3 separate regions of the Homo sapiens genome follow, and all the other regions are linked to region 2. Evidence: promoter capture Hi-C in 16 types of primary human blood cells and fetal thymus (Javierre and others, 2016). All regions are on one chromosome and are shown on one strand. Each heading gives the region's core, a stretch centred on a gene start or on the middle of the fragment in contact. The rest is flanking DNA. Distances are from core to core; before and after follow the strand shown.

What was found. Contacts are between HindIII fragments. The CHiCAGO score rates a contact against its expected background, and 5 or more counts as called.
Region 1: a fragment that was not itself captured here is called in contact with the fragment with the promoter of STT3A-AS1 in region 2 in 11 of 17 cell types (naive B cells, non-activated CD4 T cells, endothelial precursors and 8 more); the score reaches 10.8 in naive B cells.
Region 3: a fragment that was not itself captured here is called in contact with the fragment with the promoter of STT3A-AS1 in region 2 in 1 of 17 cell types (naive CD8 T cells); the score reaches 5.5 in naive CD8 T cells.

The regions. Positions count from the first base shown.
Region 1 is chr11:125,877,145-125,880,274 of GRCh38, forward strand. It overlaps LINC03136 (long intergenic non-protein coding RNA 3136), which reads right to left. Exons shown (of 2, transcript XR_007062935.1): 1 at 1-3,130. Among named protein-coding and RNA genes, the nearest start is that of LINC03136, 4.1 kb to the right of the region's middle. The HindIII fragment of the contact is 1,712 bases long and covers 712-2,423 here.
Region 2 is chr11:125,591,077-125,594,162 of GRCh38, forward strand. STT3A-AS1 (STT3A antisense RNA 1) reads right to left here and starts at 1,492. Exons shown (of 4, transcript NR_132372.1): 1 at 1,342-1,492. STT3A (STT3 oligosaccharyltransferase complex catalytic subunit A) reads left to right here and starts at 1,776. Exons shown (of 18, transcript NM_152713.5): 1 at 1,776-1,842. RefSeq lists enhancers at 761-930, 1,048-1,642. The HindIII fragment of the contact is 3,144 bases long and covers 1-2,652 here.
Region 3 is chr11:126,066,094-126,069,212 of GRCh38, forward strand. It overlaps the pseudogene NAP1L1P1. Among named protein-coding and RNA genes, the nearest start is that of CDON, 4.8 kb to the left of the region's middle. The HindIII fragment of the contact is 5,217 bases long and covers 1-3,119 here.

The sequences.
Region 1 (3,130 bases), core at 318-2,817, 290 kb after region 2:
CTAAAATGCACAGAACAGCCCCCATAACAAAGAAGTATCAAGACAAGGCTGGGCGGGTGGCTCACGCCTGTAATCCCAGCACTTTGGGAGGCCGAGGCAAGTGGATCATGAGGTCAGGAGATCAAGACCATCCTGGCTAACACAGTGAAACCCCGTCTCTACTAGAAATACAAAAAATTAGCCGGGCGTGGTGGCGGGTGCCTGTAGTCCCAGCTACTCGGGAGGCTGAGGCAGGAGAATGGCGTGAACCCGGGAGGCGGAGCTTTCAGTGAGCCAAGATTGCACCACTGCACTCCAGCCTGGGCGACAGAGTGAGACTCCATCTCAAAAATAAAATAAAATAAATTAAATTAAATTAAATTAAAAATAAAAAAAGAAGTATCAAGACAAAAACGTCAATAGTGCTGAGGTTGAGAAACCCTGATTTACAACATTAATATCTTTCACTCTGCATCAACATTTACAACATCTGTCCCTCCCAAATGAGGAATCTCATTTATTATTAGTAATTTCAGGACAGGAACTAAGTGAAATAAATTACTAAGTGAAAGGTAGTAACTAAATGTTCTTCTTCTGAGGGATCCCAAGGCTAAAATTACCAAAAATGAAAATAAAGCAAAATTAATTCAACCAAACTTGATTTTCATTGTACATGTGGCAATACTAGATGTTATGAATAACAACAAATGTAAGACATATGGTGCCCCAAAAAGCTTAATATTCTTGAGAGAATAAGACACATATACTTGGAAAAGTAATAACAGTAAGGCAAATTGTGAGTAAAAATGCTTAATATGTAAGTAAGAATAATTGAGAAAAATGAGTTGGCCTTTAAAAAATAGATTTAAGAAGAAAAGAATTTTAGAATGGAAGCAATTAACAATATCTCATTTAACTATTGATTTTGTAGGTGAAGTAGCTGAAACACAGACTGACTAACTTATCCAAATTATGAGAGCAAATTACTGAGACCAGAACTTTAGTCTCCTGATTCCTGATCCTTTGTTGCTGTTTCCTGTATAACACACTGCCTTTGTGATTGCTGGAAAGACATAAACAGAGAAGGCCGTGTATGACTATCAGTGGAAATGTACATCATCTCTTCATCATCATCATCATCATGTAGCAATGCTAGATGTTGTGAATACTAGATGCTGATTCTCAATCCTGGATATGTTGACCTCACGGTGGACATTTGGTGATGTCTGGGGACATTTTTGATTGTCCATCATCATCAGAGCTGACATTTGAGTGTTTAGTAAACATACTGGTGAAGGGTTCACATTATGAAATATCAGAAAGTAAGATTGGAAAGGAATGAGCATCTCAAGAAGAAAAGATAAGACTAAACAGAATAGTAACAGTCTCGATCTAAATGTTGTAGATGTTAAATGACAAATAAAAGCAAGTGCTACAAAAATTTCAAAGATGGTCAGATTCCGATGGCTTAAGGGTAGTTAGGCAGGGCTTGGTAGAAGAGGTGAGTTGGAGCTGAGAATTCAAGAGCTCCACAGGATTTGGAAAGAGAGGAGAGGTCAATCTAGATAAAGAAGGCAGTATAGGGCACAGAGTTAAATAAACCAAGTGGCTTTCAGGACAGCGAAGAAACAAAACTAGCTAGAGTAGAGGACTTGAGTAGAGGGGAAATAAGACTGAAAAGGCACGATGGCTCCAGATTGTGCAGGAACCCAGGCAAACTGAATTTACTCTGGCAAAGAGAAGTCACTGCAAGTGCTTAAGCAGAATAACTTGATTAAAGTTTTAGGAAGATTCATCTGGCAATGACGTAGGATGGATTGAGCCAAGAGAGATATAAGGGAAGGCAGGGAGCTATTCATCTAATAAGAGTAAGAATAAAGAATAACAATACTATACAATATCTATAATGTATTTAGTTATTATTACTTGGTAGACACTGTGCTAACATGCACTTTTTAATTTAATTCTCATCACAACCCTACAAAGGAAATTGAATTAGTGAACATTTTTTCCCCTCCACTCTCACATACCACTCAACACAACACTTCCCACACCACATGTGTGGGAGTTATTTCCCCACACACCAAGCAATCAGCTCTGCAGTGGACATCAGCTGGGTGTCTTCTAGTTCAATTATGATTCTATATACTTGGAAATAGGGTCAAATCCCACAGGTTGAGGGCTCAGGCCCGCAAGAATTCCCCCCGCTTCAGATGCCAGTCACAAGTAGTAGACTGTCACCCATACTTCTGACTGACCAGCAATAAATTGGGAGCCCCTACAACCCCCTCCTTAGATTCAGTTAACTTGCTAGAGCAGCTTACAGAACTCAGGCAAACATTTTACTTACATCAACTCACTAATTACGGAGGATATTACAAAGGATACAGATGAACAGCCAGCTGGAAGAGGTACATAGGGCAAGGCATGTGAGGGGGGTATGAAGCTTCCATGCCCTCTCTGAGCATGCCACCCTCAAGGAACCTCTATATGTTCAGCTATTCAGAAGCTCCCCACAAGCTATCCTTTTAACTTTTTATGGAAACTTTATTACATAGGCATGATTGATTACACTGGTCATTGGTGATCAACTCAGTCTGCAGCCTCTCTCCCCTCCCTGGTGGCTGGGAGATGGGGCTGAAAGTCCCAACACTCATCATGCCTCGGTCTTTCTGGTGACCAGCCCCCATCCTGCAACCAGTCATCTCACTAGCATTCAAAAGCCACTCTTATCATTTAAGAGATTTCAAAGGTGAGATTTCTAGCCTGGGTGAGATGTTGTCCAGGCTAGAGTGCAGTGGTGTGATCATAGCTCACTACAGCCTCTACCTCCCATGCTCAAGTGTATTATCCCCATTTTATAAGTGAGAAAATTGAGTCAAAGAGATGCTAAGTAACTTGTCCTTATCACAAACTAGGGAGTAGAGAAGGCAGAATTTGTACCTAGATAATATGACACCATAATATGAGCTTATATTCTGAACTATGCCATGTAAACAAAGTATGGGAGGCCACTGTTTGGACTAGCTTCCTGCACGAGGTTCCAAGAGATCAAACCAACCAGAATGAAGTCGTTCACATTAGGTGCCACATAATCAAACTGACCTCTGAAACAGGCCAGTTTTCCAAAAACAGAAGATTCATAGCAGCC
Region 2 (3,086 bases), core at 242-2,741:
CTCCCAAAGTGCTGGGATTACAGGCGTGAGCCACCGCGACCGGCCTTAATATTCTTAGGTTAATACTTAAAAAAAAACAAAAGAAACTTGAACACAATCTTTCTAATTTTAATGCCCCCCTCCCCGCTTTTTTATTTTTAAAGAGAAAAAACTTCTTTTTGAGACGGAGTCCAGCTCTGTCGCCAGGCTGGAGTGCAGTGGCACGATCTCGGCTCACTGCAACCTCCGACTCCCTGGTTCAAGTGATTCTGTGTCAGCCTCCCGAGTAGCTGGGATTACAGGCACGCGCCACCACGCCCAGCTAATTTTTCTATTTTTAGTAGAGACGGGTTTCACCATGTTGGCCAGGATGGTCTCTACCTCCTGACCTCGTGATCCGCCCGCCTTGGCCTCCCAAAGTGCTGGGATTACAGGGGTGAGCCACCGCGCCCGACCAAAACTCGTATTTTGAAGAAGCATTTACTCCAAGTTCTGTAATTCCTTCAGGCTCAGCTTCAGTTTCCTTTTGTTAAAGTAAAATTACATCGAACACTTACTACTAAAAACAAAACCAAAAAAAAGCAGATCTATTGAATCATAACGTCCTGGGGCGAGCCTGGTCATGTGGATTTTGAAAAAAATGCATGTGATTCTGAAGCAGTGATTTAAATAATGACCTTTCAATAAGTGGTGGGTTCCGTTCATGGGAGAATAGGAAACTGCGTGAGTGGTAGAGGCAACAAGTTCGAAGAGCTGCGAGACGTTCCCACTCTCTCTGGTGTAGCCTTGGCTCACCGAGGCGCGCAGGGAGTGGAAGTGCCTGAGGATAAAGGTGTACACGTGCGAGTCTGAGATGATGGAATTGCTGCTCAAACTTCGTCCCCTTCTCTGCCCTCAGCAAACTTATTGGGGGTCGGGGAGCGCGTGGGGTGCGAGAGAAGAGAGGCAAGTTAGGATAGGGAGAGCGGCTCTCTGGCCGGTATTTTAACAAAGGGCTGAACTGACTAAGCATGGCCGGGCTGCCTCCCGGTCTCCCGAGGAAGCCCGCTTGCTGCTGGGGAGGGCTGTGCCTCCGCGGCGGTGGCTGTCTCAGCTGGCAGTAGAAATGCTTCCAGCTTAGCCCCGACAACCCCTTTAGGCCTAGGCACGCTCTTTCACAAAACCAGGGGCTGTGAACTCTGTCAAGGTTCCCAGGTCCATCGCAGTTACCAAGGCACAGTAAAAGCTCGAGTCAACTATCAGGCACATCCTGCAAAAGACGAACTGTCTGGACCAGTCCGCGTTTGAGTTTTAATTGAGAATAAATAGGTAGAAAATGCTTCCCTCCTCTCCTTTCACCTTGTATTAGGTAACAATTTCTACCTTAAAAAAGACGGGAGACGAGCGGCTCCGCATTCCGAGTTACTGGGACTTGGAGCAAGGGCCTATTTCAGCGTAGTTTCCGCTTCTTGTCACATGACGGGAGTCAGTGGGCCGCGCCTTCCCACTGCGACTCCCCGTGGGTCCGCAAACCGACACGTCACTCCTCGGCCCTCAACCAAACTGCTTGGGGCACGTTCTTTCCGCGCTCTTGACTCCTACGCGCCGGCCTATGACAGCTCGGCGGGAGCATACAGACCTGCCTCTAGACTGCTAAGTGATAGCTGTAATGACCAATTAAAAACTTGAATCGCGGCCCGGTTTACGCCTCCGGATTTGACAGACAGTTCCGAGACCCTATCGCTCTCCAGAAGCGTCCTATTGGCCTGGAGCCAGCCAACGGGGGAGCGGTCCGGGAGGCGGACCCGGCTCCTGCCAGGGTTGGGTGCGCCGCTGAACGGATGGCTGAGGGAGCCCCGCGGATCGTTTAGGAAAGCCGGCCAGGTGAGAAGGCCGTAGAACGTAACTTGAAAATCAGCGGCAGGTGCAGTCCATGGCGTTGATGGGGCTGAACGAAGTGCAGGAGGCAAAACTCTAAATGGGGGTGGAGAGCAGAGCTTAGGGCCTTGCAGAGGAGGGGGCGTGGGGCGTGGTGTGGGGGCTTCCTGGATGGAAGGATGCGAAGGTCTAGGGAGGGAGGGTAAGGTGGGTCTTGAGAACAGAGCGTGGGAAAGACTGGGTCCTGGGACTAGTTATGGAGGGGAAGGCGCGTAGGATGCTGGGGTGATGAGTGTCCCGCGCTGAGGGGTATCAGAGGTGGTCAGTTCTTTGAGGGTGGGAAGAAGAGGGAGGTGGGACCCGCTGGAACGACCGGAAGGGAGAAGAGAGTAAAAGATCGTGAGAGGGTGTGGAAACGTGTGTAGGAAAACGGGGCTGGGGAAATTGCAGTCTGGGAAACTAGAGGCAGGGTGGCAGGAGATGCCACAGCTTGCAGGGCACAGTTGAGGAGAGCAGGTTGGTAAGTGTTTTAAGAAAGGTGTCTTTGCTCTTATTTGCTTGGCGGTGTGCGAAAGTGACCAAAGAGCACGAGATGAAATCTCCCTTACGGCCCTGCCCTCAATGACTAGCTCGTTTACTCAAGTTTTCAAGTAGAGATCCTAGCAGTCTCATTTTGGTGTGTGGCTCGTATCAACGCAGTGGTGTTAAGTTTGTTCCTATTTCAGGCATTCCAGAAAACAGCTGCAAACCCTGAGAGATATGGCTGGATTGTTGACCTCCTGGAGTAGTTAGGCCTTTATTTTTAGTTGCAAAGTAAGCTTTCCCTTTGGGACTATACTTAAACACATTTCTAAACTGCTCTTCTGGGACAGTTAATTATGGAGAACATGCTTGACTTCTCAGTGTTGGGGCTAGCATTCTATATGCCTTCCACCTAGTCCAGTGTTGTTGTTGTTTTGTTTTTCTCCTTTATTCCAATAATAGTGGGAAAAAAGATTCATGGAGGAGGATAGACAAACGTTTGTTAAGGGATACACAAGTACAACTAGATAGGAATAAATTCTAGTGTTCTATAGGATAACTATTATTAGGAGTATAATTAACAACAAAAATACACAATTTGTTGTATATTTTCAGATAGCTAGAAGAGTGGATTTTGAATATTCCTAAGACAAAAAAAATAAGGTGATGAATCTACTAATTATTTCCCGACTTGATCATTACACATTATATACATGTACCAAAATGTC
Region 3 (3,119 bases), core at 179-2,678, 470 kb after region 2:
GAATCCAGGCAGTGGAAAAGGTGTAAGAGGTTTGAGAAGAATAATAGACTGGAAAAATTACAAATTAAAGAAAAGGAGATATGTATGACATTAAAGAGCTGTTGTTACAGGATTGAGTAAGAAAGAACCAAGAAGTCTTTGGTAATAACCAGAGTTTACCATTTCAGAAGTAGAACAGTTCCAAGTAATGATTAGATCTAGTATGTTTACCGGTGCTGGTGGACGATGTGGATGATTTATGCCGTCAGGGGACATATTGAAGGAACTGAGAGGCTGATAAATGAAATACCATGAGCCAAGTACTCAAGTCCTCAGGGATGAGGTGGGAAGGTTGTTAGATACTAAGTGACATTTAATACATTCCAGGCCTGAAGTGGGTGCTTTTATAATACTCAATACATGTTAAAATTGGTTCTCCAAGGCCGGGCGCGGTGGCTCACACCTGTAATCCCAGCACTTTGAGAGGCCGAGGCGGGCAGATCATGAGGTCAGGAGATCAAGACCATCCTGGCTGACATGGTGAAACCCCGTCTGTACTAAAAATACAAACAATCAGCCAGGCGTGATGGTGGGTGCCTACAGTCCCAGCTACTCGGGAGGCTGAGGCAGGAGAATGGCATGAACCCAGGAGGCGGAGCTTGCAGTGAGCCGAGATCCCATCACTGCACTCCAGCCTGGGCGACAGAGCAAGACGCCATCTCAAAAACAAAAACAAAAATGGTTCTCCAAGAATAACATAATAGAGTAACTAGAGTCCATAAACTTGTATCACATTCTGACTGTACCTTATTTGATCTTGGTCAAATAACTTAAACTCTTGGAGTCTTGATTTCATCATTTGTAAAGTTGTAAATGACTTCATCATTTGTAAAGAGTAATAATACCTCATATAGAGTTGTTAATAGGACCTACTTCAGTGGTTTGCTAGGAGGATTAATTGAGATGATACACACAAAGCACTTAATACAGTGATTGGCAAGTAGCAAACACTGGATAAAAGTGTTTTTAACATAAATAAAAGCTATTTATAATAATAATAGTTAATGCTTATATAGTTCCTTCTGTGCACCAAGTATTATTTTAAGCATTAGTCCCAAATTACAAATGAGAAAACTGAGACATGAAGTGCCTTGACCATAGTCACACGGCTAGTCAGTGTCAGAGCTCATATTAAAACTCAGGTAATCTGTGTCTAGAGGCTGGACTCTTAATTATTACACATTAATGTCTCCCTACAATAATGGGAAGTATTTTTATTAATATCACTTCAAATAAATTGATCAGTTAAACTGATCTGTTCTTTTTTAGCACCATTTGCTCGCAGTGCCGCCTCCTGCTCCTCCTGCCGCCACTGCCGCCCTGAGTCACTGCCTGCGCAGCTCAGGCCTCCTGGCTTCCCATACTAGCTGCCGATATTTGGAGTTCTTATAACATGGCAGACACTGACAATCTGAACTTGATCGAGATTTGGATGATGTTGAAGAAGTACATGAAGAAGAAACTGGTGAAGAAACAAAAATCAAAGCACATCAGCTAACTGTTCAGATAATGCAAAGTCCTCAGATTCTTGCAGTCCTTCAAGAAAGACTTGATGTTCTGGTAGAAACACCAACAGGATACACTGAAAGCCTGCCTAGGGTAGTTAAAAGACGAGTGAATGCTCTCAAAAACCTGCAAGTTAAATTAAATGTGCACAGATAGAAACCAAATTCTATGAGGAAGTTCACGATCTTGAAAGGAATATGCTGTTCTCTATCAGCCTCTATTTGATAAGCGATTTGAGATTATTAATGAAATTTATGAACCCACAGAAGAACAATGTGAATGGTAACCAGATAAAGAAGATGAGATTTCAGAGGAGTTGAAAGAAAAGGCCAAGATCGAAGATGAGAAAAAGGATGAAGAAAAAGAAGACCCCAAAGAAATTCCTGAATTTTGGTTAACTGTTTCTAAGAATGTTGACTTGTTCAGTGATATGGTTCAACAACATGATGAACCTATTCTGAAACACTTGAAAGATACTAAAGTGAAGCTCTCAGATGCTGACCAGCCTATGAATTTTGTCTTAGAATTTCACTTTGAACCCAATGAATATTTTACAAATGAAATGCTGTCAAAGACATACAGGATGAGGTCAGAACCAGATGATTCTGATCCCTTTTCTTTTGATGGACCAGAAATTATGGGTTGCACAGGGTGCCAGATAGATTGGAAAAAAGGAAAGAATGTCACTTTGAAAACCATTAAGAAGAAGCAGAAACACAAGGGAAGTGGGACAGTTCATACTGTGACTAACACAGTTTCCAATGACTCTTTAATTTGTTTGCCCCTCCTGAAGTTCCTGAGAGTGGAGATCTGGATGATGATGCTGAAATCCTTGCACAGACTTCAAAATAGGTCACTTTTTACGTGAGCGTATAATCCCAAGAGCAGTGTCATACTTTACTGGAGAAGCTATTGAAGTTGATGATGATGTTTATGATGAAGAAGGTGAAGAAGCGGATGAGGTAATGTTTACCAAATGAGCAAATAATTCTCTGTGTTTAACACATTGAGAAGCAAATTGAATGACTTATGTATTCCTTTGCTATAATCATTCTGCAATTTGGGTTAAAAACATTTTGGAGGCCGGGCGCGGTGGCTCACGCCTGTAATCCCAGCACTTTGGGAGGCCGAGGCGGGTGGATCATGAGGTCAGGAGATCGAGACCATCCTGGCTAACAAGGTGAAACCCCGTCTCTACTAAAAATACAAAAAATTAGCCGGGCGCGGTGGCGGGCGCCTGTAGTCCCAGCTACTCGGGAGGCTGAGGCAGGAGAATGGCGTGAACCCGGGAAGCGGAGCTTGCAGTGAGCCGAGATTGCGCCACTGCAGTCCGCGGTGCGGCCTGGGCGACAGAGCGAGACTCCGTCTCAAAAAAAAAAAAAAAAAACATTTTGGAAAATATGATTTTAGAATTCTACAGCCAAACAGTGTATGTGTAAAGTTTCAATAAATAAACTGAAAAAAAGAAAAAACTTTGTTGAGCACCTTTTAAGTATAAAGCACAAAATTAAAGACATACAAGGAAATACCTGTATTAAAAACATCTTGGCTGGGTGTGGTAGCTCACAACTGTA